4 separate regions of the Homo sapiens genome follow, and all the other regions are linked to region 1. The links are contacts of gene promoters, found by promoter capture Hi-C in blood cells and fetal thymus (Javierre and others, 2016). All regions are on one chromosome and are shown on one strand. The core of a region is centred on a gene start or on the middle of the fragment in contact, and the rest is flanking DNA. Distances in the headings are between cores, read along the strand shown. Region 1 holds the start of EMP1 (epithelial membrane protein 1). Region 2 overlaps GPRC5A (G protein-coupled receptor class C group 5 member A). Region 3 overlaps GPRC5D (G protein-coupled receptor class C group 5 member D). Region 4 has its middle 15 kb from the start of GPRC5A.

Region 1 (6,519 bases), core at 468-2,967:
ACGTCATCAGTTTTCAGTGAGAAAATCCAGACCTTCTTACTTTTACAGAGATAGAATTCAGTTCTCAGGGACTTGTGAAGATGCAGCATCATCAAATCATTGTGTGTGTGTGTGTGTGTGTGTGTTGTGTTTTCCTTATCATCCACCTTAGAAAATATTCTCCACATTCCCATGTTAAAATATTTTTTCCTAAAATCCATCCATCCACATGCCAACATCCTAAAGACAGTAATATAGGTTCATTGCAGAGGATTTGGAAAATACAGAATTGTGACCAGAACAAACTAAACTGCATCCATAATTTTATCATCGAATTTGATCAACATTTTGGTGAATAGCCACCAGTCTGTTTTCTATCTTTTTAGGGAATATAAGTTCCAAGAGGCAGGGATGTCATTCACTTCTGTGACTCAGTGCTCTGAATCAGGCCCAGTGAAGACTGACGTGCAGCCTGTATTGGCAGAATGAATGAATAAATACTACACACGCATATTTTGAATTGAAATAAGTTGTCAGGGTGCAGCAGAGAATAACAGAAATAGAATTGCTTGGATGTGCTGACCTAGATCCAAGCTGCTACTGGTAACGTACTGTATCTCCTTGAATAAGTCACTTCACCTCTCTGGGCCTGAGCTGCTTCTTCAGTAAAATAATCCTTGTAGCTAAGATTTGTTGAGCGCTCACTATGCACACTGCCATGAGCCCCTATATGTGTATTTCTCATCATAGCTCTATGAGTTACATACCTGCCATCTCCATTTTATGCATGAGAAAATAGGCATGGAGAAGTTAAGTGGTTTGCCTAAAGTCACACAGCAAATTTGTGGAGAGCTGGGCTTGAACTCAGGCATCTGGGCTTTTACTCTCTCCAGTGGAATGCCTGGGCTGTGGGATGAGATGACTTCACAGGCCTCTCCCAGCTCCAGAGTTGAGAGAGAGAGAGGAGTGGTGCAGGGAGGTAGTAGGGATGATTATGCTACTGGCCAAGTTCAAGAAAGTCAATTGTAGAACAAGGTCCAGCTGATTATTACAGAGAGCAAAGTTCTTAACTAGAGGACTTCCTCCTGGAATGTGGAGAGTCCACACGGGCACTAGCAGAGCATAATGAAAGACCAGGAATTCTCTGCTGTTCAATCAGTGCTCCATCACTCAGAGGCAGGGCTGCAAGAGCTCCTAGTGTGTCCCCTTCGCCTTCAGGGCCTCCCTGTACAGCCACCCACAGGACAGTGCACCAGGGTCAGGCAGGGAAGTAAATAAAAAAAGGAATCTGATAATTCCTGACAGTGAGCAGCAGCTGATGCTTTTAATGGGGGAGGAAGACTGGGAATCTCGCTTGATGATGACCTAGGACTTCAGTCAGCAGGACACTGGCCCCTTTCCTCCCCCTCCCAGGCTGAAACCTTGTGTTTTGCCTTATGTCCATGGTAACCAAGTCTCCTTTTTGGTGAGGAGGAATGGGCTTCAGTAAACAGATCTATTTGTGTGATCCTGTTACTCATTTGAAGCAATGTCCCTCCTTTTTTCCACTGTGGTCTGTGTGTCTGAGTCAGAGAGAGCCTACAACAGGGTTCTTTGAATTGATGGCTCACTCCCAGCCACTCTTGACTGACTGCCAGCTTAGCAGGGCGTAGCTTACCAACAAATCTTTTTTTTTTTTTTAAAGCCAGACTGATTCATAGAAACTCCTTTAAAACACGGTGAAAAGAAACCGCCCATTACACACCCCAGTACACCAGCAGAGGAAACTTATAACCTCGGGAGGCAGGTCCTTCCCCTCAGTGCGGTCACATACTTCCAGAAGAGCGGACCAGGGCTGCTGCCAGCACCTGCCACTCAGAGCGCCTCTGTCGCTGGGACCCTTCAGGTAGGACAGCTCCCAACGCTGTGGGGACTCTCAGCAAAACTTCTCCTTCCTTTCCACGGCTCTGCTTCTTCTGACCTCATCTTAGTTTTGCTTTTTCTTTTCTTCCTTCGCTATTTTTCTATGATCCTCTAAGAACCAAGTCCTTGAAACTTTTGGCTCAAAGTGGATACAGAGACAACTTTTTCTAGAAAGTTCAGAAAAGTGTATTTTGAGGACGGAGTCTGGGGAAATCAATGGGATGGGGCTAAAATCGTGCCTGGCAGTGACCGGGTTCTTGTTCTAGGATGTGGAGGGAGCAGGGACTTTGAAACAAACTGGGATAGGATCCTGTTTATGGAGGAAACACCACACACCTTGGAAATGACATCGGGAACTGGCCAGATGTTTTTCACCTCCTCCGTTTTGATTCCGATTGCTTCAGGACTTGAACTGTTACTCTGCTCGCTGGTTGTTGGTTGGGATTTTTTGGGTGGTGGTGGATAGATAACTGGTTTTCAGTTTATTTTTGACATTGCTTTTCCTGCCTGTTTGCTTCCCTATTCACTTCTGTTTAAATTTAAGTATTTTTTTTCTCCTCACAGGATGGGAAGAGGGGGATTGGTTTGTTTAAAGAAAACTGTTGGCCGGGCACGGTGGCTCATGCCTGTAATCCTAGCACTTTGGGAGGCTGAGGCGGGCGGATCACCTGAGGTCAGGAGTTCAAGACAAGCCTGGCCAACATGGTGAAACCCTGTCTCTACTAAAATACAAAAAGTAGCCAGGCATGATGGCAGGTGCCTGTAATTCTAGCTACTTGGTAGGCTGAGACGGGAGAATTGCTTGAATCCGGGAGATGGTGGTTGCAGTGAACTGAGATTGCGCCACTACACTCCAGCCTGGGCAGCTGAGTGAGACTCTGTCTCAAAAAGGAAAAAAAAGAAAAAGAAAAAAAATGAAAAAAGAAAACTGTTAGAGAGAGAAAGAGAGGGAGGCAAATGGTGTTTTAAATGAAACGTGGGAGGGGTTCACTTGGTCGAAGCAGGAGCTGATGAGGATTCCAGATGCCTTCTCTTGGCCAGATGTGGAGGGCGGGGGAGGCAAAAGGGAAGCTGGGTTTGGAGAAGAGGGTGGGGCAGGAGAACTTCATCTGTGCCTGTTAAAAATTGTTGAGTGGCTTTGTGCTTTCACCCCAGAAAGAGCTGCCTTTCAGTGCTGAGTGAAAAGATGGCATACCAGAAACGATAAAAGAACTTTTAAAAGAAAGTGGATGTGGAATTTCTTTGCATGGAAGGCAGTGATTGTTTTGAAATGCTTATCTTTTCTCTTGTTCCCGAAATGTGATTGTATAAATGCAAACACTCATGCTAATCATGAAATCTGGAGGAATGAAGAAGGGTGCTTTTTCTTTTTTTTCTTTTTTTCTTTTTTTCGGTTAGCATTTTGGGTGAGTGTCTACCGAGGTGTGGCCCATTTCAACATAGACACTGGTATATTTTTTCCCCAAGTAAACAAGATGAGAATGACAGGATTCAGCTTGTCTGACAAAGTTAGGCTTTTCCTTTAGAAAGGCAGTACGTTGGGAGAGAAGTTACATGTAATCAACCCTGTGTTGAGCAGGCAATGCTCCTTGTAAAACTGCCCCAAGGGGGACGATTGAGTAGGCATCAGGGCAACTTTTCAAGATGAAGGGAACTCCTACATTTGCTTCACATGTTTATTATTTCCACATTACATGGATGTGGATTAGCCATTATTAAATCAATAGTGTTAATATCCTGTGAAAATTATACAAATCTTTTAGTTCTGTGCAGGTTAAAACTAATAACCAGTCAACACACGGAAAGCCCTGACAATGTTGGGAGTGTAAACCATCATGAACTGCATTATTTGTGGCAAGGTTTCACATGATACTGTAGGTTTATAAAGGAGAAAATATGCTACATGTTACTTCCTGGAGTTTGAAGACAATTTAGAAAAATACCGTTCTGATTCCTGCTCTCTGCTCTTCCTCCAAGAAGTAGTGAAAGAGTCCCTTAGCTGTGAGAGTTTTTCTGGATTTCAGCTTTGACAATCCCGAAATGTGAGGGTTATTTTTCCCCCCCACTCTGCCCGCTGCCTCCCACCCTCAGGGGCAGATCCAATTCCACCCAGACTCCGAAGAATGGGGCGGGGGCGGGGGCTGCAGGACATCCTGTCTGGCGCCCTGGTCAGAGGGCCCCCCACATTTACATTGTTTGTGGGTACTAAACTGTCTTGGGAGTTGGCAAAAGGCCATCAAGAACCAACTTGGAGCAAATCACATCCTTAGAATCTGGCTATCTCCCAGGACTGCTGGGCAGACCGCTGGGGAAAGGAAAGAGATCCCTTCTGTGGAGAGTGGAAAGGACTCACTGTGCCTTCCTCAGCCCTTCCTGCTTCCTCCAGAGACCAGATTAGGCCCATCAAGTTCCCAGCCTTGTCAGTGGGCTTCATGGAGACCCCTCACCCGGGAATGTAGACCCTCTTGGCTTGCTCTGGGTGGCTCTAGGGATTTCAGGTAGTGCCAGACCCACAGGGACTACTGGAGAGAGACACGTTGAAGACCGGGGAAAACTTGTGGATGAGGCAAGACTGCTTTTCTGTAGACTCTATGGAGCCTGGTGGGGCACATAACTGAAACGTGGACACAGGAAAGGGCAGGAGGCAAGTCAGTTCCATTTCATCCTTCATTTCGTTCACAGAATTCTAAATTTGGGAGGGATCTTGGATCTCATTCATTCTCCTACTGTATGCAGAAATCTAATTTTTACACCATCTTGAACAGATGGCCATCCTACAGATCTTAAAATTTCCAGATGCGGGGAGCTCAGAACCTCAGTGTGTACCTCCACACTCATTCCCCTTAGCAGGCCAACTCTAATTTTATTAAAGTTCCTTAAATCAAGCAAAATCAACTTCCTTATAACTTCCTGATTCTGCTGGCCTGAAACAACTCAGAAAATATCTATTCTGGTTTTGTTGTTGCTCCACCCAATGATTCTCATCCTCTAAACACTTAACGCCTATTTAATATTTAATGAATACAACTTGATGGATCTACATTGCATTATCTTTTCTTCTTCTTCTTCTTCTTCTTTTTTTTTTTTTTTTTGCCTAAGGCTCAGAAGGGCAGGGAGCATTTTTGAAGTTTGGAATTATGTACATAGTCAATCATACTCACGGGGTTTTTGATTTGGAGGTATTTAATTTTCTAAATGCATGAATATGGTTCCTTCTTTAACCTCCCACATGTATGTACATAGCTGCCTAACACAAAAGCTCAGGCCTATTTGGGACTCTCAGATGTACATACTCGGAGGGACACACCCAGTGTTGCTACCTACTAGGTCATGGTTAGATCAATCCAATACCAGGACACAGGCTTCTAGCTAGGCCTTTTGGGGATTGTCCCATAATTTGGTCCATAGTTCATGTAGCCCACACCTATACATTGTCACCACCCATCATAGTAATTACGGGAACAGGCTGCCCATCAAATGTAGCCTCCTTGTAATTGCTGGCCAGCAATCTGGGTATCAGCCCCTTGAGAAGAGCTCCTAACCCTTAACCAGCGTAGAACGGGAATTTTCTCACCATAAGCTTCCCTTTTCTAATACTCTTCCCAGATCCGCCCAGGTGATCTTGAATTTCTGGACTGCACTTGCTATTCAGTAATCAAGGAAGCCCAAATATGGTTCCAGTTAGGGGTTTACTTGAATCTTCAGCACCCAGCCCCGACATACACACGTCCTGAGACTGCTCTTTGCAACAATTCAGTCCCTGGTGTCCTGCCTGGGTAAAACCATTTCCTTCAATTTACCTGGGAGATTCACTGATACTAAAGCAGAAAGATGAAAGCACAAACACCTGTGGTGATTGCTGCTTCTCTCTTCCTTTTTAACAAAATGTTTGGGTCAAGGTTTTCTTTTGTGTTGTGGAGATGGCATTTCCCTGGAACTGCAATGGAATCCTCTGCTGTTGGTGCGCTTGGACTTACGTGGCTGTGACAGTTTTTCTATTTGCTGAGCCTGTTTCATGAATTGTTTCTTCAAACCGGGTAGTTAAACTAGAGAGCCCTTTCAGCACAGGTTGAAAGCGTGGCAAGAATCCTGGAGCAGATGTAAGACAGCTGACTAGGAAGACAGAGGGGCAGTGGTGTTATCTTGACGCTGCCATGTAACCACAGGCGAGACACTTGTCTTCTTGCTTTCGGAAGTTGAACTTGGTGGTTCTTTCAGACCCCTTATGGCTCTGAGATTCTAAGATTCACCCAGGCGTGGTAATCCCAGCTACTTGGGAGACTGAGGTGGGAGGATCACTTGAACCTAGGAGTTTGAGACCAGTCTGGGCAACATAGTGAGACCCTGTCTCTAAAAGAAGAATTTTAAAAAGCAGGGTGTGGTAGTGCATGCCTGTAGTCCCAGCTACTTGGGAAGCTGAGGCAGGAGGATTGATTGAGCCCCAGGGCTTTGAGGCTGTAGTCAGCTATGATTGTACCATTGCACTCCAGCCTGAGCAATGAAACAACACCCTGTCTCAAAAAAAACAAAAACAAAACAAACCAACAAACAAAAACACCAAAAAAACGAAAAACAAAAAAATTAAGATCCTACCATTTCTATTTTGAGATATCCCTTGCGCTGATGCTAGCAGCTGGC
Region 2 (6,711 bases), core at 797-3,296, 300 kb before region 1:
ATTGCCTTTGGGTTCTCCTTGTATTTTCAGCAGTTATTTATTTATTTTGAGACAGGGTCTTGCTCTGTTGCCCTGGCTGGAGTGCAGTGGCACAATCTTGGCTGACTGTAACCTCCACCTCCCAAGCTCAAGTGATCCTCTTGCCTCAGACTCTTGAGTAGCTGGGTCTACAGGCACCCACCACTACACCTGGCTAATTTTTAAATTTTTTGTAGAGATGGGGTTTTGCCATGTAGCCTAGGCTTGACTCAAACTCCTGGGCTCAAGCAATCTTCCTGCCTTCACTTCCCAAAGTGCTGGGATTATAGGTGTAAGCCTCTGTACCCAGCCTTCAGTACTTTTTGTTTTACGTATTTTGGTGCTATATTAGTTGGTGCATAAAAGTCTAGGATGGTTTTTTTTTTTTTTTTTTTTTTTTGAGACAGAGTCTCGCTCTGTCACCCAGGCTGGGGTGCAGTGGTGCGATCACGGCTCACTGCAAGCTCTGCCTCCCGGGTTCACGCCATTCTCCTGCCTCAGCCTCTTGAGTAGCTGGGACTACAGGTGCCCGCCACCATGCCCGGCTAATTTTTTGTATTTTTAGCAGAGACAGGGTTTCACCGTGTTAGCCAGGATGGTCTTGATCTCCTGACCTCGTGATCTGCCCGCCTCAGCCTCCCAAAGTGCTGGGATTACAGGCGTGAGCCACCGTGCCCGGCCCAGGATGGTTTTATCTTCAGTGTAGAGCATCCCTAATTATTATAAAACAAGCCTTTTGGTCAATATAATATCTTTTTGCTTTGATTACAACTTTGTATGATATTAAAACCTTAACTTCTACTTAATTATTTTACCTTGAACAACTTACTTAACTTTGTGTCTGACACATAATACTTGTTAAATAAATATTATGTTAGTATTTCTTTTTATTTTCATTTCTTTCTGTTCTTTTGCTTTTAACTCTTGTGTATCTTTTTGTTTTAGGTTAGGTTCTTCTAGGTATGATATAGTTTAGTCTTTTTTTTTTTCAAAATAGTTACCATTTACATTTCTTGTAATAATAGTTACTTGTTATTGTCATCTAATTTTAGGCTATATGGTTTGGTTGTCTCCATCTCCTTCTGCATTAGACAGTATATATCATATCATATTTTTAGATCTACTAGCAACTGAGTAGATGGTAGTGCCATTCTCAGGGCTTTGAAAGATAGGCTTGTAAGGAGAGGTGATCAGTTTAGCTTTGAACTTGTTGGATCCAGTGAATATTACCCTTATGTATCAGAATAAGATATTTAAATGAAGGGATCTTTGAGAGCCTTAAGATAGTATACTAGTAGAGGGCCGGCGCGGTGGCTCACACCTGTAATCCCAGCACTTTGGGAGGCTGAGGCGGGCAGATCACGAGGTCAGGAGTTCAAGACCATCCTGACTAACACAGTGAAACTCTGTCTCTACTAAAAATACAAAAAAAAAAAAAAAAAAAAAATTAGCCGGGCGTGGTGGTGGGTGCCTGTAGTCCCAGCTACTCGGGAGGCTGAGGCAGGAGAATGGTGTGAACCCAGGAGGTGGAGCTTGCAGTGAGCCGAGATCACGCCACTGCACTCCAGCCTGGGCAACATAGTGAGACTCTGTCTCACAAAAAAAAAAAAAAAAAAAAAGGATAGTATACTAGTAGAGGACTTCACTTTATTTTCCTATTTTCTGGAAATTTCATTTCTTTGAATTCGGGCATAAGAGATTTAGAAGCTTCACTCAAATATTAAGCTTTATTTAAAAAGATGATTTCCAGTATTTCATTTTATATTCACATTAATCAAGTCTACATGTTTCGTTTAGAGTAACAGGAAGATGGTAATACGCCCAGGGAACTATCTGGAAGTGTAGAAATTGGGATGAACACCGTGGTTATACTTGTTTTGATCTGCCTGTGGTGCTATGATGACTTATTTTCTCTCATTATTGCATAGAAACTCAATTCAGTGATGTTATTCAGATGTTATTCATAAGTTATTGCCATGATTCATCACTTTTATGTCATCAGAGTTGGGATGGCTACCCAGAATAGGGGATCCTGGAGATTTCCCTGTAGACGCTTTGCATTTATAAATAATCCTTTATCAAGGGCAGAGGGATTTCTGTAGGACTTCTCCCTTAGAAGAACTCAGCCTGGGTAGAAATACGAGGATTAACATCAGCACATATTCATCTCCAAAAAATTTTCCTCCCCATTACTCACACTTGCCAATAAATAACTTGCTTTGGGTAAATATTCAGCACTCAGTCTTAGTCCAAAGCATTTGCTCAGCAATCACTGTGTAGAGTACAGAGTAAGGGGGATACCAACAAATAGAAGTTTGCTCTATTTTCTTAAGAAGCTTGTTGTCTGGCCAGGCACGGTGCCTCACGCCACCTTCCTATCTTCCTAGGAGATAGATGCCACAAAGAAGCTTGTTGTCTGATAGGCAGCTCAGCAGTGATATTAATTTGTAATATATAACAAAGATATGGAAAAACTTGAGTGCCAAGAAATATTTAATTGTAAAAACCATGAAGAGATCGACACATTTAGAGTGCAATAGGATTTCAAGTCCAGGTGTGATGGCTTACGCCTGTAATCCTAGCACTGTGAGAGGCTGAGGTAGGTGGATCACTTGAGCCCAGGAGTTCGAGACCAGCTTGGCCAACATAGCAAAACCCTGCGTCTACTAAAAATATAATAATTAGCTGGATGTGGTGGCGCATGCTTGTAATCCAAGCTACTTAGGAGGCTGAGGCACAAGAATCGCTTTAACCTGAGAGGCAGAGGCTGCAGTGAGCTGAGATCATGCCACTGTACTCCCAGGCTGGAGTACAGAGCAAGACCCTGTCTTAAAAAAAAAAAAAAAAAAAAGGCCATAGGATTAATAGTAATAATGATAATAATTTAAAAAACTCATGATAGAGGTTAAATCTTGGGCAAAGTTTTGCAGAAATATGGTAAGTGGATCATAAATAGGAGGGAGAGGATCTTTCTGGTTAGGAGAATAATTCATGTGTTGAGGCAAAGAGCATGAGAAGACCTTAAATGAACCCAAATTCCCTTCCAGATGGAAAATACAGAACTCTAGGAAGATTTGCTTGCCTTGCACGGAGGTGGAGACGGGAGTTAGGGAGGAAGGAGGAGATAGGTGGGAGGACTAATTGGAGAAAGGCCTTGAAGCTCAAACTGGGGCTGGATCTGCCGTGACAGACAAAAAGGAGCGAATACGCTTCTTTTTTTTTTTTTTTTTGAGACCATGTCTCACTCTGTTGCCTAGGCTGGAGTGTAGTGGCGTGATCTCAGCTCATTGCAGCCTCTGCCTCCTGGGTTCAAGCGGTTTTTGTGCCTCAGCCTTCTGAGTAGCTGGGACTACAGGCGTGAGCCACCATGCCTGGTTCATTTTTGTATTTGTAGTAGAGATGGAGTTTCACCATGCTGGCCAGGCTGGTCTCTTAACGCCTGACCTCAGGTGATCTACCCGCCTCGGCCTCCCAAAGTTCTGGGCTCACAGGTGTGAGCCACTGCGCCCGGCCGATAATTTCTTTTTAACCTCCTTTGCGGACTCCTACCTAGATGAGATGGTGCTCCACATGGTTCTGTCCTTGGCTTCCCATGTGATCTTGTCTCCTCTTGAGGCTTCAGATACCACTCTAGGTGATGACTGCCAGTCTGTGCTTACAGCCCAAACCTCTCCTGAGCACCAACCCATATGCCCACGGTGCAGAGACAGCACAACCCAGTGTCAAGGAGCCTGGCTTTTAAGAGTCATGTAATCTTGGGCAAGTTATGTAATTTCTCTGTGCCTCAGTTTCCTCAGCTGTTAAAGGAAGGCATAATAATAGGGTTGTTGTGAGGATTAAATAACACCATATATGGCCAGGAGCAGTGGCTTGTGCCTGTAATCCCAGTACTTTGGGAGGCCGAGGCGGGCAGATCACCTGAGCCTCAGGAGTTGAAGAGCTGCCTGGGCAACATAGCGAGACCCCACCTCTACAAAAAATACAAAAAGTAGCTAGATGTGGTGGTGCGCACCTGTCCCAGCTATTCAGGAGGCTGAGGTAGGAGGATCACCTGAGCCCAGGAAGTCGAAGCTGCCGTGAGCTGTGATTGTGCCATTGCATCACTCCAGCCTGGGCGACAGAGAGACTTTGTCTCAAAAGAAAAAAAAAAAGAAAAAAGAAAGGAAACCATATATGGCTCAGAGGAAACTCTCAAGAGGACTTGGGTCTTTTGACTTGTTATTCCTGGATAGCTCCACGTGCAGGTCGCATATTTATCAAAGAGCCAACAAAGCTACACTTAGCATCTCTCCTTTCAAGCCTGTATTTCTAGGCTCTGACAGTGGTGCCACTCAGTTGCCTAAGCCAGAAATCTGGGAGTTAACCTGGGCTTTTCCATTCCCAAAGCCCTGTCTCTTCTACCTTCATAAAAATCTCCTACCATTTCCTGTTCATCTTTCATGTTTCATCTCCCTGCTTTCTTCCCTAAAGCATTAAACATTAAAAATAATTATTTTAAAACCCCACTAGGTAGAATGGGTCACTGTTTTCCATGTGCCCTCAGCATTCCTAATGTATTCCATAACTTCTTAGTTGTATGTCAGTGTGATTATTATTCATTCCAAGGGCAGTGGCCACAATTTTATATTTATTTATTTAGTTTTTTGTTTTGAGACAGGGTCTCACTCTGTTGCCCAGGCTGGAGTGCAATGGCATGATCATAGTTCACTGCAGCCTCGAGTTCCTGGGCTCAAGCAATCCTCTTGCTTCACCCTCCGAGTAGGGGGATCACAGGTGTGATCCTGGCTAAATTAGCACCCGGCTAATTTTTAATTTCTTTTTGTACAGCGGGGGTCTCACTATGCTGCCCAGGTTGGTCTCAAACTCCTGGGCTCGAGTGGTCCTCCCATCTCTCGGCCTCTCAAAGTACTGGGATTACAGGCGTAAGCTACTGCCCCCGGCCAGGGTTGCTTGTTTTGGAGACTTCTCAGCAAGCCAATGCTTGAATATATGGTGGTTTAAATGGAGAGAGGTTGGGGTCAGGGAGAAAAGCTCTAGAGATGATGACAGTGATTTAGAGGTGAAAAGGAGGATTGAATTATGATTATGACTACTTATAAAGAGCTATTCTTTCTGACCATGTGACACTGGACATGTACCTTCCTCACTCTGTTAGGTTTCTCACCTATAAAATGGGCTGTAGGAATGTTAAATGAGGTAATGGATGTAAAAGCATGTAAATGAGAGAATATGTGTAAAAATACATAACTACTCAGCATAGTGCCTGACTCATAATAGGACTCAGGAGGTGACAGTAGCTGTCATTATTCTTACTCATAATTACATCATGACTGTTATTACTACTGACTGAATGTAGCAATTCGAGAATAGAGAAAAAATGAAAATGCTAGAAAGTCACACATTTTCAGGGCTGGGCTGGCGCGAAGACACATTTTGACAGAATGAGAGAAATCTCATAGGAAGGAAGACAAAGTCAGTTTGTCTTTGCAAGGTTCTGGGCCCCAGATGATTCATTCTCAGATGCTCTGGGAAGGACTGCGTAGAATAAGCATGGGCAAACTTCCAGGCCTAGTCACAAGCAACTCTACACACTTTCCCCATCTCTCTGGTTGCGAAGAGGAGTCTCAGGTTAGAAACCCAAAGCGGGAGACTCATCACATGTTCACGTTTTTCCCTGCACAGTGGTCAGTGCTGTGTGTCAGTCAAGGCCATGTCTAGGGTCAGCGCTGCTCCAGGAGCCTCTGGCTTTGTCCTTCAGGTGGGCAGTCCCTTGCTGTGTCTCTTCTTCAGACCCTTCAACCTTACCTCTAGCCCTGGCTTTTAGTTTGGGTAGGAGTTTGTGGCACATACTCTTTTAATGACAGGAGATGGGGCAAGAATGAGGATGAGGGGGAGAAAGAAAGACATCTGGAAGTTTTGTACATGAAGCTCCCCAGGTGGGTGAACGGTGGAGCTGAACATGAGTTCAGACCACGTAGTTCAGCAGCGTGTCCTGCATTTTATAGATGAGAGGAGGCTTTGAGAGGTCAAGTGACTTACTTGTTCACACAGCCTGGCAGCTGAAACCCCTTCTCCCTAAAGGGGAGGAGGAACAGAGGGCTTGGAGTTGACCCAAGAAATGACTTCGCCCTCCTCTTCCTTTCCTCCCTCTTCCTCTTGTTCTTATTCTTCCCTTCCCTCTCCCTCTTCCCCACTGGTTTTTCTAAACCTTTCTTTTGGGGCCGGGCACAGTGGCTCACGCCTGTAATCCCAGCACTTTGGGAGGCCGAGGCGGGCCTGAGGTCGGGAGGTCGAGACCAGCCTGACCAACATGGAGAAACCCCATCTCTACTAAAAATACAAAATTAGCCGGGTGTGGTGGCACATGCCTGTAATCCCAGCCACTCGGGAGGCTGAGGCAGGAGAATCACTTGAACCTGGGAGATGGTGGTTGCAGTGAGCTGAGATCATGCCATTGCACTCCAGCCTGGGCAACAAGAGTAAAAACTCCGTCTCAAAAAAAAAAAAAAAAAAAAAACAAAAAAAAAACAACCCAGAAAAACCCAAAAAACAAACAAACAAAAGAACCAAAAACCCCTTTCTTTCATGCCTAGATTCATTCCAAAAAGGTTTAAGACAGCAACAAGTGATTCCAGGATCTCAGCTGTGGGCATCCTTGTGTTACTGGATGGCTGTGTGTTAATTGTTAGCAGC
Region 3 (6,286 bases), core at 1,999-4,498, 260 kb before region 1:
CACAGGCTGATTCAACCTAAGAGAACAGCTGAATTATGGCATGTGAGAGAATCAGTCAGCCGGCGGTGGGTGGATAAGTGAAAATACCCACAAAAAGAAGCAGAGAAAGTGTAGAAGTGACCGCAGGAGACAGCAAGCCTCTCCCAGTGCCTGACAGTGCTTACTCTCCGTCAGGCCAGCTGAGAGGCTGTACTGTGTATCCTGAGGAAGTTTTGTTTCCCCGTCATATGTAACTTTAAAATAAAACTCCAGGCCGGGCGTGGTGGCTCACGCCTGTAATCCCAGCATTTTGGGATGCCGAGGTGGGCGGGTCATGAGGTCAAGAGATCAAGACCATCCTGGCCAACATGGTGAAACTCCGTCTCTACTAAAAATACAAAAATTAGCTGGGTGTGGTGGCGCTCGCCTGCAGTCCCAGCTACTCAGGAGGCTGAGACAGGAGAATCGCTTGAACCCGGGAGGCGGAGGTTGCAGTGAGCCAAGATCGCCCCACTGCACTCCAGCCTGGTGACAGAGCGAGACTCCATCTCAAAAAAACAAAACAAAACAAAACAAACTTCATTCCTGAAACAGCTTGAATGAGACACTTGCAACCTACAACCCCCCAAATCTAACTAATAGGCAGTCTAAAATTAGATAAATTGTGGTGTAAATTTCAGAGGCAGTTTGGTAAAAAGGTTCAATTTTAGCCTTCATCAATTTTAGAAAAAAACATTTTGGGAGACAATATTAGGCCCTTGTATGTGGCTTCAATGAGTTTTTAAGAATTTGTTAGCCAACTCTGTAGAAACATCTCCTGCTTGCAAAACAAAACAAAATTATGTTGAAGGTATTATTATGATTATTAGGATAAACATCAGGAGGATGTGTTATAATGGTTTTCTTTCACAACAGGTGGACTTTTTTTGGCTTGTTTCTACCTCTCAAATTAGGGTCTTCATGTGGATGCCACCTAATCTATAGACCAAAGCATTGCTTAATGCTTAAACATTTTTTCTCCGTTTTTCATTATCAATAAGGGCAGTAGGTCAAACATTTTTGTCATTTACCTAGGTCCTGGGTTGTGCTGATAATATTGCTTATGGCACAGATTTTGAAAAAGAGCAGCAAATTTTAGTGCAGCAGAAAAACATACGAAAGTGTTGGAACAGGTTGGGCGCGGTGGCTCATGCCTGTAATCCCAGGACTTTGGGAGGCTGAGGTGGGTGGATCACTTGAGGTCAGGGGTTCAAGACCAGCCTGGCCAATGTGGTAAAACCCCGTCTCTACTAAAAAAAAAAAAAAAAAAAATACAAAAGTTAGCTGGGTGTGGTGGCGGGCACCTGTAATCCCAGCTACTCAGGAGGCTGAGGCAGGAGAATCGCTTGAACCCAGGAAGCAGAGGTTGCAGTGAGCCGAGATCGTACAACTGAACTCCAGCCTGGGGTGACAGAGCGAGACTCCGTCTCAGGAAAAAAAAAACAAAAAACAAAAAACGTTGGAACATTGTGTAGAGATGAGCACTGGATAGGGGTTTGGAAACCTGGATTCTGGTCTTGGTTCTAGTGCTAACAAGCCATGTTATACTGGGCAAGTCCCTTCTCCCTGTCTGTGAAAAACAAAGGAACTGTGTTCCTGAAATTCTCTGCATTGTATGATCTTCTACAACAAAAATGCAAGCTTTGCTAAAGCAGTGTTGTACGCCTTGTCTGGGGCTGAGTCCTAGAATGGTTCCTGGTACCTTGCAGATGCTCAGGAAATATTTATTGCTATTGAACAGCTTATGGTGTCCACTGGCCACAGAAAAGGCTCTGTTGCATGTATAAAGCTGTAGTTATTTTTCAAAAGGCTTTCAGTTAGCAGGCACTCAACACTCACGGGTCTGAAATATTCCATTTGTTCTCAAGGGGAACACACCTTACTTGCTCATACAGAAATATGGGCATGGAGGAGCCTAGTGGACGGGGGAAGAAGACAGGCTTAGGAGTCAGAAAATCTGGCTCACCACTAATGACTGTGTGGCTTTGGGTAAGTCATTCTGTTCTCCAAAGTTCCGTGCTCTCATCTGCAAGGTGAGAGAGCTGACTCAGACCCCGGGACCCTTCTAGAGGCACACCTCTGACTCTGGTCCTCTTATTCTTGTAATAGATAACAAACGAATATTAAGCGCAGATGAAAGCATTCAGAAGAATGTGGGGCTGATGAGGAACAAAGGCAAGAAAATTAGCACAGAGGCACCAGCTCATTAGAAACATCAAGACAGGCAGACTATGCTTTTTATGTTCACCACATAAAATCCTTTATGAGCATCTGCTGGGGTGTCTCTTCCTTTGCTGTTACTGGCTCAGCAAAGCAGGTCATGCCCTCAGCCATGTCTGCTGCCCAAGTAGCTGTCACAGGGAGGTAGCACCAGGAGAGAAAGCCTGCCAGCTTGCAAGTCCATGGCAATGTCCGTGTTCTTTAAACCGCCCAATTGTGGTGATCCTGAGGATTTGGCCTTAACTTTTGTAGACAATTCTGGACCTATCGTATTTTGAGTTCCTTTACAAAAAAATTACTAGATGCCTCACACTCATTAGGATGACCACTGTAAACCAAAAATAAAAACACCCCAGGAAATAACAAATGTTGGCAAGGATGTGGAGAAAGTAGAACTCTGTGCATTGTTGATAAGAGTGTAAAGTGCTGTAGCTGCTGTGGAAACAGTGTGGACGTTCCCCAAAAAAATTAAACATAGAATTATCATATGATCCAGCAATCCCACTTCTGGGTATACACCAAAATAATTGAAAGCAGGATTTCAAAGAGATTTTTGCACATCTATGTTCATTGTAGCTCTATTCACAATAGCCAAGAGGTGAAAGCAACCCCAAATGTCCATTGACAGATAAATAAAAAAAAATGTGGTATAGACATACAATGGAATATTGTTCAGCCTTAGAAAAGGAGATCCTGTGACATGCTACAACATGTGACATGGACCTTGAGGACATTATGCTAGGAAAGATAAGCCAGTCACAAAAAGACAAATACTGTATGATTCTATTACATAAGGTATCTAAGTAGTCAAACTCACAGAAACCAAAAGTAGAATGGTGGCTGTCAGGGGCTGGAGGGAGCTGTTCAATGGATTGAGAATCTCGGTTTTGCAAGATGAAAAAGTTCTAGAGAATTCACAACAGTGTGAATATGATTAACACTACTGAACTGTACACTTAAACATGATTGAGATGGTGAAGTTTATGTTCTGTGTTTTTTAGCACAATTTAAAAATTGACCAGACATGTGACCCAGTAGTAAGCTGCTACTAACCTCGTTGTCACATTAGAATGCCCTTAATTTCTTCAGACAGGGTCTTTCAGTTCTGTGAATAAGAGGCACCAATTCTTTTCCAGCATTGCTAAGAAAGGGAATTTTGCAGTTACACGAATGAAGAAAGAGACACAGTCAAGGTAGGGTGGCCAGCAAGATTGTAATTATGCTCAAAATGGTGGTCTTCTGGTGGAGGGTCCTGGTGGATGGAGGGGTTAGGAAACAGAAGGTGGGATGCTGACTCTTCATTGGCAGCGTGACTCTGTGGGCCCCCGTGGGCTATCAGGGCTATGCTACCCAGGACGGTCTGCTGGGTTTTCTCCACTTGTGTTTCCTGTAGATTTATACTCCTCCTGCATCTTGCTGGGGGCTTAGTTTAGCCTGTGGGATGAAACACTCTTGTGTGGGATCAACAGTCTGGAAAGGAAGAAATGCCATCATCAACTTTCTGAGCAACAAAAGAAATGATATTCTCCAAAGTTATGTTTTTGTTTTTTGAGACAGAGTCTTGCTCTGTCACCCAGGCTGGAGTGCAGTGGTGTGATCTGGGCTCACTGCAAACTCTGCCTCACAGGTTCAAGCAGTTCTCCTGCTTCAGCCTTCTGAGTAACTGAAATTACAGGCATGCACCACCATGCCCAGATAATTTTGTAGTTTTAGTAGAGATGGGGTTTCACCATTTTGGCCAGGCTGGTTTTGAACACCTGACCTCAAGTGATCCGCCCACCTCACCCTCCCAAAGTGCTGGGATTACAGGCATGAACCACTGTGCCAGGCCCTAAAGTTATGTTTGAAGTATTATTATCTCACCTTCATTTAATTCTTTGTCAATAACAAAAGAAGAAACATACTGAGCCTACCTATACCAGGCTACCCCTTAGCCACGAACAAGAATCTTTTTGCAAGCAAGGTTCTTGAATAGCTGATCACTGGAAATTGAAATGAATCCAAGAAACTCTTGGAGGGGACAATAAAGATGTTTTCATTATGTAAATGCCCTCCTGAGGGTTGATTAAAGCACATGATATAGTTATGGCCTGGTCCATGTGTCATTCTAGGAAAAGGCAAATTCTCAGATAACATACCAGAGGGGTTAGCTTAGTTAGTGGCCTAGTAAATTCATTGAATAAATGATCTGAGGGTGGCTTTCACGTTGGGGCTTTAGTTACTTTTGATCCCCGTAATGTAAGAATTGTGTCCCAGTGTGATGTTTTTGGCTGTTTAGATTTGTATGTCTTCAAGTCTTCACAGCCCAAATGTGAATTACCCCCAAACTACTCAGCAGTGCTCCCTCTGTTTTTGCCTGAAAGGATTAAAATTTGTTCATCCATCTGGGCATCCAGATGATGATGACATACCCTGCCCAGTTCTTAGGGCAGCCTGGGCTGCTGGAGCTAGACAGTGACTCAGAGAGGCAGTCAGTGGGGCTCAGGTGATAGGTTCAGACAACTGCTACTAAAAGCTGACCCCAAACTCAGACATATTTACAATCCTGTATTGTCCCCGAGGCAAAATTCGGTAAGCCTGCTGCTCTTCACCTTCACACAGAAGCTTCAAGCTGCCCTTTCTTTCCAGGGACACGCACTTGCATCAGAATGCTATATTGTTGATGGCGATGAAGACTGGGAGGGTTTGGGTGAAAGCTGTCTTGCGCCACCTGGTCTGGCTTAAATCTGGGTGGCTCAAGCTCCACATGCCTTTAGGGATGCTCCTGCTCTGTCTCTCCTCTCTCAGGTCAGTAAAGCCATTAGAAATGAAGCCTGAGGCTGTCCTAAGGAAGGAATGCTTGCTAAGTCCCTCCTGGGTGAATATAGGCGAGTACATTTACCTGCGGCTGAATGGGAGTACCATATGAAGTTAATGCTACATCCTCCTCAGCTCCATCACTGTCTCGGGCTGAAAGCCAAAGGAGGGAAGGGCTGGGTTAGTGTCCGAGAGTCAATCGGAAACAGCACATGAGGACTACAGGAAAACTCCATGGCTTGCAAACAGGCTCTTCACTCTTTAAAAGGAATTCTGAGGCTGGGCACGGTGGCTCACGCCTGTAATCCCAGCACTTTGGGAGGCCAAGACAGGCGGATCACTTGAGGTCAGGAGTTCGAGACTAGCCTGGCCAACATGGCAAAACCCCGTCTTCACTAAAAATACAAAAATTAGCTGGGCGTGGTGGCGTGCACCTGTAATCCCAGCTACTTGGGAGGTGGAGGCAGGAGAATTTCTTGAACCTGGGAGGCGGAGGTTGCAGTGAGCCGAGATCACGCCACTGCATTCCAGCCTGGGTGACACAGCGAGACTAAATAAATAAATAAATAAGAGGAATTATCAATCAGTTGTAGCTGTTATTGAAAAACTTTATGATTTAAAGGAGTGTATTTAAAGTTGATGTAGAAAGCGTGGGTAGCGTGTGAGTGTTTAGGAGAAGCGCATTGGCGTTGGGAGACCACTAGCTCCAAGTCAGTTCTTGCTCTCTCAGTATTACCGTGTGGCCTTGGGCATCTCACTCTTTTCAACAGTCCCTTTAGGCTTGATTCTCTACAAGCTTGAATTCAATTTTTCAAAAATTTAAAAATTTTGCCCAGGTTGATCTTAAACCCCTGGCCTCAAACCTCCCACCTTGGCCTCCCAAAGTGCTGGGATTATAGGTCTGAGCCACCATGTCTCACCTGAATTCAATTTTTAAAATTGGGCATAATAAAAGAGATCACTTGAGACGATTCTATATTGTTGTAGGATCATCACAGACATAGGTATTTGTTTAATGGCTGCCTCCTCAACCAGCCTGTAAGCTCTGTGAAGACAGGAGCTGTGCCTGTCTCTAAGAGCAGGTACTTGCTGGATACCTAGTTGTTTTTTGATGATCACAGACATAACCGTGTTAGTAGGGTTCACACTTAGGGGTTTCATGTTGAGTGGATGGACCCTGGAAAAGGACTGCTTGGCTCTCTCATTTGTGTTACCTACCTAGGGCCAAGTTCCTTAACCTTTTGTTGCCTTT
Region 4 (6,435 bases), core at 1,665-4,164, 320 kb before region 1:
CCCCCATCACCCACCCTCTACTCCCTTTGAAGAACCACAGAGGGAAGAGTAGACACCATACAGCTCACACTGACTCACTTCTGTGTTCAATGCATTGCTCCTCTTAGTCTCCCAGCTTTTCTAGAAGCCCTCTGAGGGCTTTTTTTTTTCCTTTTCTTTTTGAGACAGGGTCTCTGTTGCCCAGGCTGGAGTGCAGTGGCATGCTCTCAGCTCGCTCTGCCTCCTGGGCTCAAGTGATCCTCCTACCACAGCCTCCTGAGTAGCAGGACTACAGGTGCGCACTACCACGCCTCGCTAATTTTTGTATTTTTAGTAGAGATGGGGTTTCACCATGTTGCCTAGGCTGGTCTCAAACTCCTGACCTCAAGTGATCTGCCCACCTCAGCCTCCCAAAGTGCTGGGGTTACAGGCGTCAGCCACCGCACCTGGCCCTTCTGAGGGCTTTTTATTCCTTCTATGTTCTCGTAACTCCTCTCAGAGTTTTTAGGTGACCTCTGTTGATTGACAGATCCAGAAGTTTGGAAGATGTGTCAGCCTGAATTTACAGATTGGGAAGCCGAAGAGGAAGGGTTTAGCCACCTGCCCAAGATTGTGAGAATTGGCAGTTATTCACCAGATAACCAGGAACAGTCCTAGAGTTAAACATTTTACATACATTTGTTGTTTAATCCTTTCAACAAAGCCTAAGAGGTAGAAGGTCTCATTATCCCCATTTCATAGCTGAGGAAATTGAAGCTTACAGTTTTTAAATAACTCCACTGCACTTACATGTCAAACTCAGAATTAAACCCAGTCTTATTCCTAACTGCTTCTCATTTTCAGCACTTCCTACATTGTATTACAGCTTCATCTACTTGCCTTCTCTGCAAATTAGACTATTACCTTTTCTAAAGGCAGGAACAATACTTTTTATTTTAATCAGGACCTAGCACACAACCTGATACATAGTTGATGTTTAATGAATGATTATTAACCAAATGTTAAAAGAATAAAGAGCTGGTGATAAAGCTAACTTCTAGTCCAGGTATGCACTGCCTCCCTGCAAAGGCCAGGCTGGCCTGCTCCCTTTCAGAATGGGATCTCATAGGAGCCTCTTCTCTACTCAAAGTGACACCATCAGACCCCATATATGGGGAACAATGTTACTTCCTGGTTTCCTTTAAAAGCCCTTTGGGAGGAGACAGTGAGCAGGCGTCAGTCTTGGGGAGCCTCTTCAGCCCTGCAGGGTTGGGGCCTCCTTTCTGTCTCTCCTCCATGGCACAGAGCTCCACTTACAATCCACAGAAACCCTTGGAGGCAGTGAGCATCAGCCTCCATCTAAAGTGGTGATGACCAGCCTAGTCTCTGGCTGGAGAAACTTGGAGTTGATTCTGGTTCTCTTGGGCCAGATATTAACCTTATGAAGTCTCAGTTTCCTCCCTATAATGTGGGGATACATATAATGTCCATTTCATCCAGTTGCTATCAAGATTGAATGAGAAAATGCATGCCCAGTCCTCATCACAGCATGAGGTGAATGACAGCTTTGGTTACTGGAATTTGAAGGCCTGAGAGAGGAATGTGAAAGAGGAACTAATAATAACATCAGGCACTGCAGGGCGCTTTGCCAATCACTCTTTTTTTTTTTTTTTGAGTCAGGGTCTCCTTCTGTGGCCCAGTCTGGAATGTTAGTGGTGCAATCTCGACTCACTGCAACCTCCGCCTCCCGGATTCAAGTGATTCTCCTGCCTCAGCCTCCCAAGTAGCTGGGATTACACGTACGCACCACCATGCCCGGCAAATTTTTGTATTTTTAGTAGAGATAGGGTTTCAACATATTGGCCAGGCTGGTCTCAAACTCGTGACCTCAAGTGATCTGCCCGCCTCAGCCTCCCAAAATGCTGGGATTATAGGCGTGAACCATCACACCGGGCCATTCCAATCACTCTTCATTTCCTGCATCTCAAAGCAACGCTGTCAAACAGTTGGAGTTGATTTTCTAGGCCTTTCTGTTTTCCCCCTCCTGCTTGCCATTGCAGGGCCTCCTCTGGTCACTCGTACCAGTGAGAGATCAGGCTCCTTTAGGAAGTACTCACAGCGGAAAATCAGCTTGAAACTGCCTTTGGAAAAGTATGACTGAGACAGTGAAGGAGATCAAACTTAACTGACTCCCTCTTGCTCCTAACCTCCAGACTGTCCTTATTCATTCCTGGGTGTAGGCCGAACTAACTTTGGGAGAAACTTAGTTTATAGTTTAAACAAAGACGGTAACAACCCTTTCTTAAAGCAGACCTCCTTCTTGCCTGGGGACTAGATTGCCTTTGTAGGATGAACATTAACCACAAGATTAGAAATTATGGTTTAGGAGTCATGCAGCTGGAGCTACAAGATTCCAACCCTCCCCTAAACTGCTCCTAAGATCAGTGCTTCTTTCCCAAGCGGCTGCCGAAGATGGCGGAGGTACAGGTCCTGGTGCTTGATGGTCGAGGCCATCTCCTGGGCCACCTGGCGGCCATCGTGGCTAAACAGGTACTGCTGGGCCGGAAGGTGGTGGTTGTATGCTGTGAAGGCATCAACATTTCTGGCAATTTCTACAGAAACAAGTTGAAGTACCTGGCTTTCCTCCGCAAGCGGATGAACAGCAACCCTTCCCGAGGCCCCTACCCCCTCCAGGCCCCCAGCCGCATCTTCTGGCAGACCATGCGAGGTATGCCGCCCCACAAGACCAAGCCAGGCCAGGCCGCTCTGGACTGCCTCAAGGTGTTTGACGGCATCCCACCGCCCTACGACAAGAAAAAGCGGATGGTGGTTCCTGCTGCCCTCAAGGTTGTGCGTCTGAAGCCTGCAAGAAAGTTTGCCTATCTGGGGCGCCTGGCTCACGAGGTTGGCTGGAAGTACCAGGCAGTGACAGCCACCCTGGAGGAGAAGAGGAAAGAGAAAGCCAAGATCCACTACCGGAAGAAGAAACAGTTCATGAGGCTATGGAAACAGGCCGAGAAGAACGTGGAGAAGAAAATTGACAAATACACAGAAGTCCTCAAGACCCACGGACTCCTGGTCTGAGCCCAATAAAGACTGTTAATTCCTCAAAAAAAAAAAAAAAAAAAAAAGATCAGTGGTTGAGATATTCTGCAGACCCTGCACTTGATGGATCAGCTGGCACCACCCAGATCAATAAACTGGCTCATCTGATCTTGTGGCCCCCACCCAGAACTGACTCTGAAAGAAGACGGCTCCGACTTCCTACGATTTCATCTCTAACCAATCAGCACTCCTGGCTCACTGGCTTCCCCTCATCTGCCAAATTATCCTTAAAAATTCTGCTCCCCAAATGCTCAGGGAGGCTGATTTGAGTAAGAATAAAACTCCAGTCTCCTGCACAGCTGGCTCTGTGTGATTTACTCTTTCTCTATTGCAATTTCCCTGTCTTGATGAATTGGTCTGTCTATGTAGCGGGCAAGGTGAACCCCTTGAGTGGTTACAGTAACCGAGAGAGGGGACTTAACTTTTTGTATATGTTTATAAATTAGTTCCATTTGTATGTTCATTCTTTTTTCTAGTGTCTTATCTTTGGGCTTATTTTATAACTTAAGTCTGTAAAGCAGTCACTCTGAACCTGTAGTGAGTTGAAGAAGCCCTTAAAACATCTCTGGGCCGGGTGCGGTGGCTTACGCCTGTAATCCCAGCACTTTGGGAGGCTGAGGCAGGTGGATCACGAGGTCAGGAGATCGAGACCATCCTGGCTAACATGGTGAAACCCCGTCTCTACTAAAAATACAAAAAATTAGCAGGGCGTGGTGGCGGGTGCCTGTAGTCCCACCTACTCGGGAGGCTGAGGCAGGAGAATGGCGTGAACCCAGGAGGCGGAGCTTGTGGTGAGCCGAGATCGTGTCACTGCCCTCCAGCCTGGGCGACAAAGCAACGCTCCGTCTCAAAAAACAAACAAAGAAACAAACAAAATCTCCTCTGAAAAATGTCATTATTACCTTTCCTTAGTTCCAGGAGTCCGGGAGCCTCCTTTGTGCAGAGATCTTTGTATTGCCACATTAGTGCAATGCCCTGCACATAATAGATGCTTAATATATAGCACTGCACTGAACTGAAATGAGTAGTGACACTTGCCAGACAGTCTTGCAAAAGAGGAACAGGTGAATCCTTAACACAATTCAAGGTCTTATAGGAAGAAACTGCCAGTCAACCAAAACTAAACCGAGGCATACATTTCTTTCCTCACCTGGCTTACAATGCTGGAAGGTCTCTGGTTTCCTCTAAAGTGCCCTGGGTTTAGCCCATTAAACCTTATCTGTCTTATAAACCTTGCCATGAATATGCTTATCAGCTTCTTCCTGGGAGCATAAAATGGGTTTGGATAATGACTATAAAGCGCTGGAATAAGGAAGGTGCTCAACAGAAGTTGTTAGTGTAAACAAGAGCAGGTTAGAAGTGAGAAGAAGGTGCTCAGAGGACAGAGGAGATATGGGGAAGGACTTGGAATTAGTGGGGTGGAACTGGGGAGGAGAGCAGGAGGCCTGGCACTGAGAGCATCTCCTTCCCAGCTTGTTCTAGACAAGAGTAGCCTTGCCTGCCAGAAGCCCTGAGATTACAGGTGAGCTGGATCCCGAGAAATGAAGTCCCTGACTAATAGCAAATAAAGACACGGCCATTTGATAGTTCTGTTCTACATCTCGGAATGGGTAGAAATACAATAATAGCACCAAACATGAATTATGGAAAACAAGCTGTGAATGGAGACATTTGCTAAGAGATGCCAGCCCGGCTCAGCGAAGTCAATTCATCAGCTATTTTCACTTGGGAAAGAGAAATTAAGGGCAGAGCCGCAGTCCCTGCCAAACCTAACAGTCTAAAAAGCAGACTGTGTAACTTACCAAGGCCTCAGGGCAACATTAGCTGCAAATGAGCTCAGCAGGGCGGGGGCCTCCGCACAGTTCTCTAGGGGGAGAGATGGCAGGGGCCACAGCCTCTAATGTTAAAGCCACCTGCAGGGCCAGAGGGCCTCTCTGGAGGCAGAGGGATGCAGCAAAGACTACTTGGCTCTGCAGTCAGGGCTGGGCCGGGTGGTGCCGCACCGCTTTCTAATGGTAACTTAACCTCTCCAAGCTTCTTTCCTCATCTATAAAATGAGGCTAATAGCATCTGCTCTGCAGAGTTTCTGTAAAGATTAAAAACAAGACAAAGCAAGCACAAGGGCTTTGGAAACTGTAAAAGCTCTGGATATCAGATGTCATTATCATGAAAGAGAAACAATACTGGTTAAAAACAAAAGTTTCCTTCTGATGACTATTCCATGGTGTATTTTAGTGAAAGGGAAAAAAAATCCTACTGTCTATAGATAAAATATATATATTTTTTCCTGCAGTAAGCAAATAGGCTTCCGATAAAAAGCTGACATAGGGGCCAGGCACAGTGGCTCACACCTGTAACCCCAGCACTTTGGGAGGCTGAGGGGGGAGGATCACTTGAGGTCGGGAGTTCCAGACCAGCCTGGGCAACATGGTGAAACCCCGTCTCTACTAAAAATACAAAAATTAGCCAGGTATGGTGGTGCGCGCCTGTAGTCCCAGCTACTCAGGAGGCTGAGGCAGGAGAATTGCTTGAACCGGGAAGGCAGAGGTTGCAGTGAGCTGAGATCATGCCATTGCACTCCAGCCTGGGGGACAGTGTGAAACTCTGTCTAAACAAACGAACAACAAAAACAAAAACTGACATAGGGAAATGTTTTTCCCCCTGGATGGGCCCTGTCTTCCTCTGCCCTGTGTTGGCCTATCCCTACCAGCCCCTTTGTGTCACCTGGAGAGGCAGCCTTTAACATCAACAGCCAGGTGCACCTTCTAAGGCAAACCTGGCCTATGCTGGCAGGTACACAGGTGAAGGGATACAGGTTCATAGTGCTTCTAACCTTTTTACTCTCTATGGATTCCTTTGAGAACGTGATGAAAGCCATGGGCATGGAAAATGCTCTCTTTTCTTCTCTTTTCTTTCTTGGGGTTGTGCCTAGGCTGGAGTGCAGTGGCATGATCACAGCTCACTGCAGACTTGAGCTCCCAGGCTCAGGTGGTCCTCCCGCCTCAGTCTTGGGAGTAGCTGGAACCACAGGTATGTACCACCACACTTAGCTAATTTTTTTGATTTTTAGTTTTTTTTTTTTTTTTTGAGACGGAGTCTAGCTCTGTTGCCCAGGCTGGAATGCAGTGGTACAATCTTGGCTCACTGCAAGCTCCGCCTCCTGGGTTCACGCCATTCTCCTGCCTCAGCCTCCCTAGTAGCTGGGACTACAGGAGCATGACTCTATGCCCCGCTAATTTTTGTATTTTTAGTAGAGATGGGGGTTCACCATGTTGGCCAGGCTGGTCTCACACTCCTGACCTCATGATCCGCCTGCCTCGGCCTCCCAAAGTGCTGGGATTACAGGCGTGAGCCACCGTGCCCGGCCTAGCT

Evidence for each region. Contacts are between HindIII fragments. The CHiCAGO score rates a contact against its expected background, and 5 or more counts as called.
Region 2: a contact is called between a fragment that was not itself captured here and the fragment with the promoter of EMP1 in region 1, in 15 of 17 cell types (megakaryocytes, erythroblasts, naive B cells and 12 more). The highest score is 13.2, in megakaryocytes.
Region 3: a contact is called between a fragment that was not itself captured here and the fragment with the promoter of EMP1 in region 1, in 3 of 17 cell types (neutrophils, erythroblasts and total B cells). The highest score is 6.5, in neutrophils.
Region 4: a contact is called between a fragment that was not itself captured here and the fragment with the promoter of EMP1 in region 1, in 1 of 17 cell types (megakaryocytes). The highest score is 5.0, in megakaryocytes.

What each region holds. Positions count from the first base shown.
Region 1 is chr12:13,195,009-13,201,527 of GRCh38, forward strand. EMP1 (epithelial membrane protein 1) reads left to right here and starts at 1,718. Exons shown (of 5, transcript NM_001423.3): 1 at 1,718-1,864. RefSeq lists an enhancer at 3,758-4,258. The HindIII fragment of the contact is 10,564 bases long and covers 1-5,459 here.
Region 2 is chr12:12,894,379-12,901,089 of GRCh38, forward strand. The region is part of intron 1 of GPRC5A (G protein-coupled receptor class C group 5 member A); the gene reads left to right. Among named protein-coding and RNA genes, the nearest start is that of GPRC5A, 6.2 kb to the left of the region's middle. The HindIII fragment of the contact is 611 bases long and covers 1,742-2,352 here.
Region 3 is chr12:12,937,142-12,943,427 of GRCh38, forward strand. It overlaps GPRC5D (G protein-coupled receptor class C group 5 member D), which reads right to left. Exons shown (of 4, transcript NM_018654.2): 3 at 5,120-5,187; 4 at 3,434-3,708. The coding sequence ends at 3,634. All of the region lies in intron 1 of GPRC5D-AS1 (GPRC5D and HEBP1 antisense RNA 1), which reads left to right. Among named protein-coding and RNA genes, the nearest start is that of GPRC5D, 12 kb to the right of the region's middle. The HindIII fragment of the contact is 3,183 bases long and covers 1,658-4,840 here.
Region 4 is chr12:12,873,069-12,879,503 of GRCh38, forward strand. It overlaps the pseudogene RPL13AP20. Among named protein-coding and RNA genes, the nearest start is that of GPRC5A, 15 kb to the right of the region's middle. The HindIII fragment of the contact is 4,362 bases long and covers 734-5,095 here.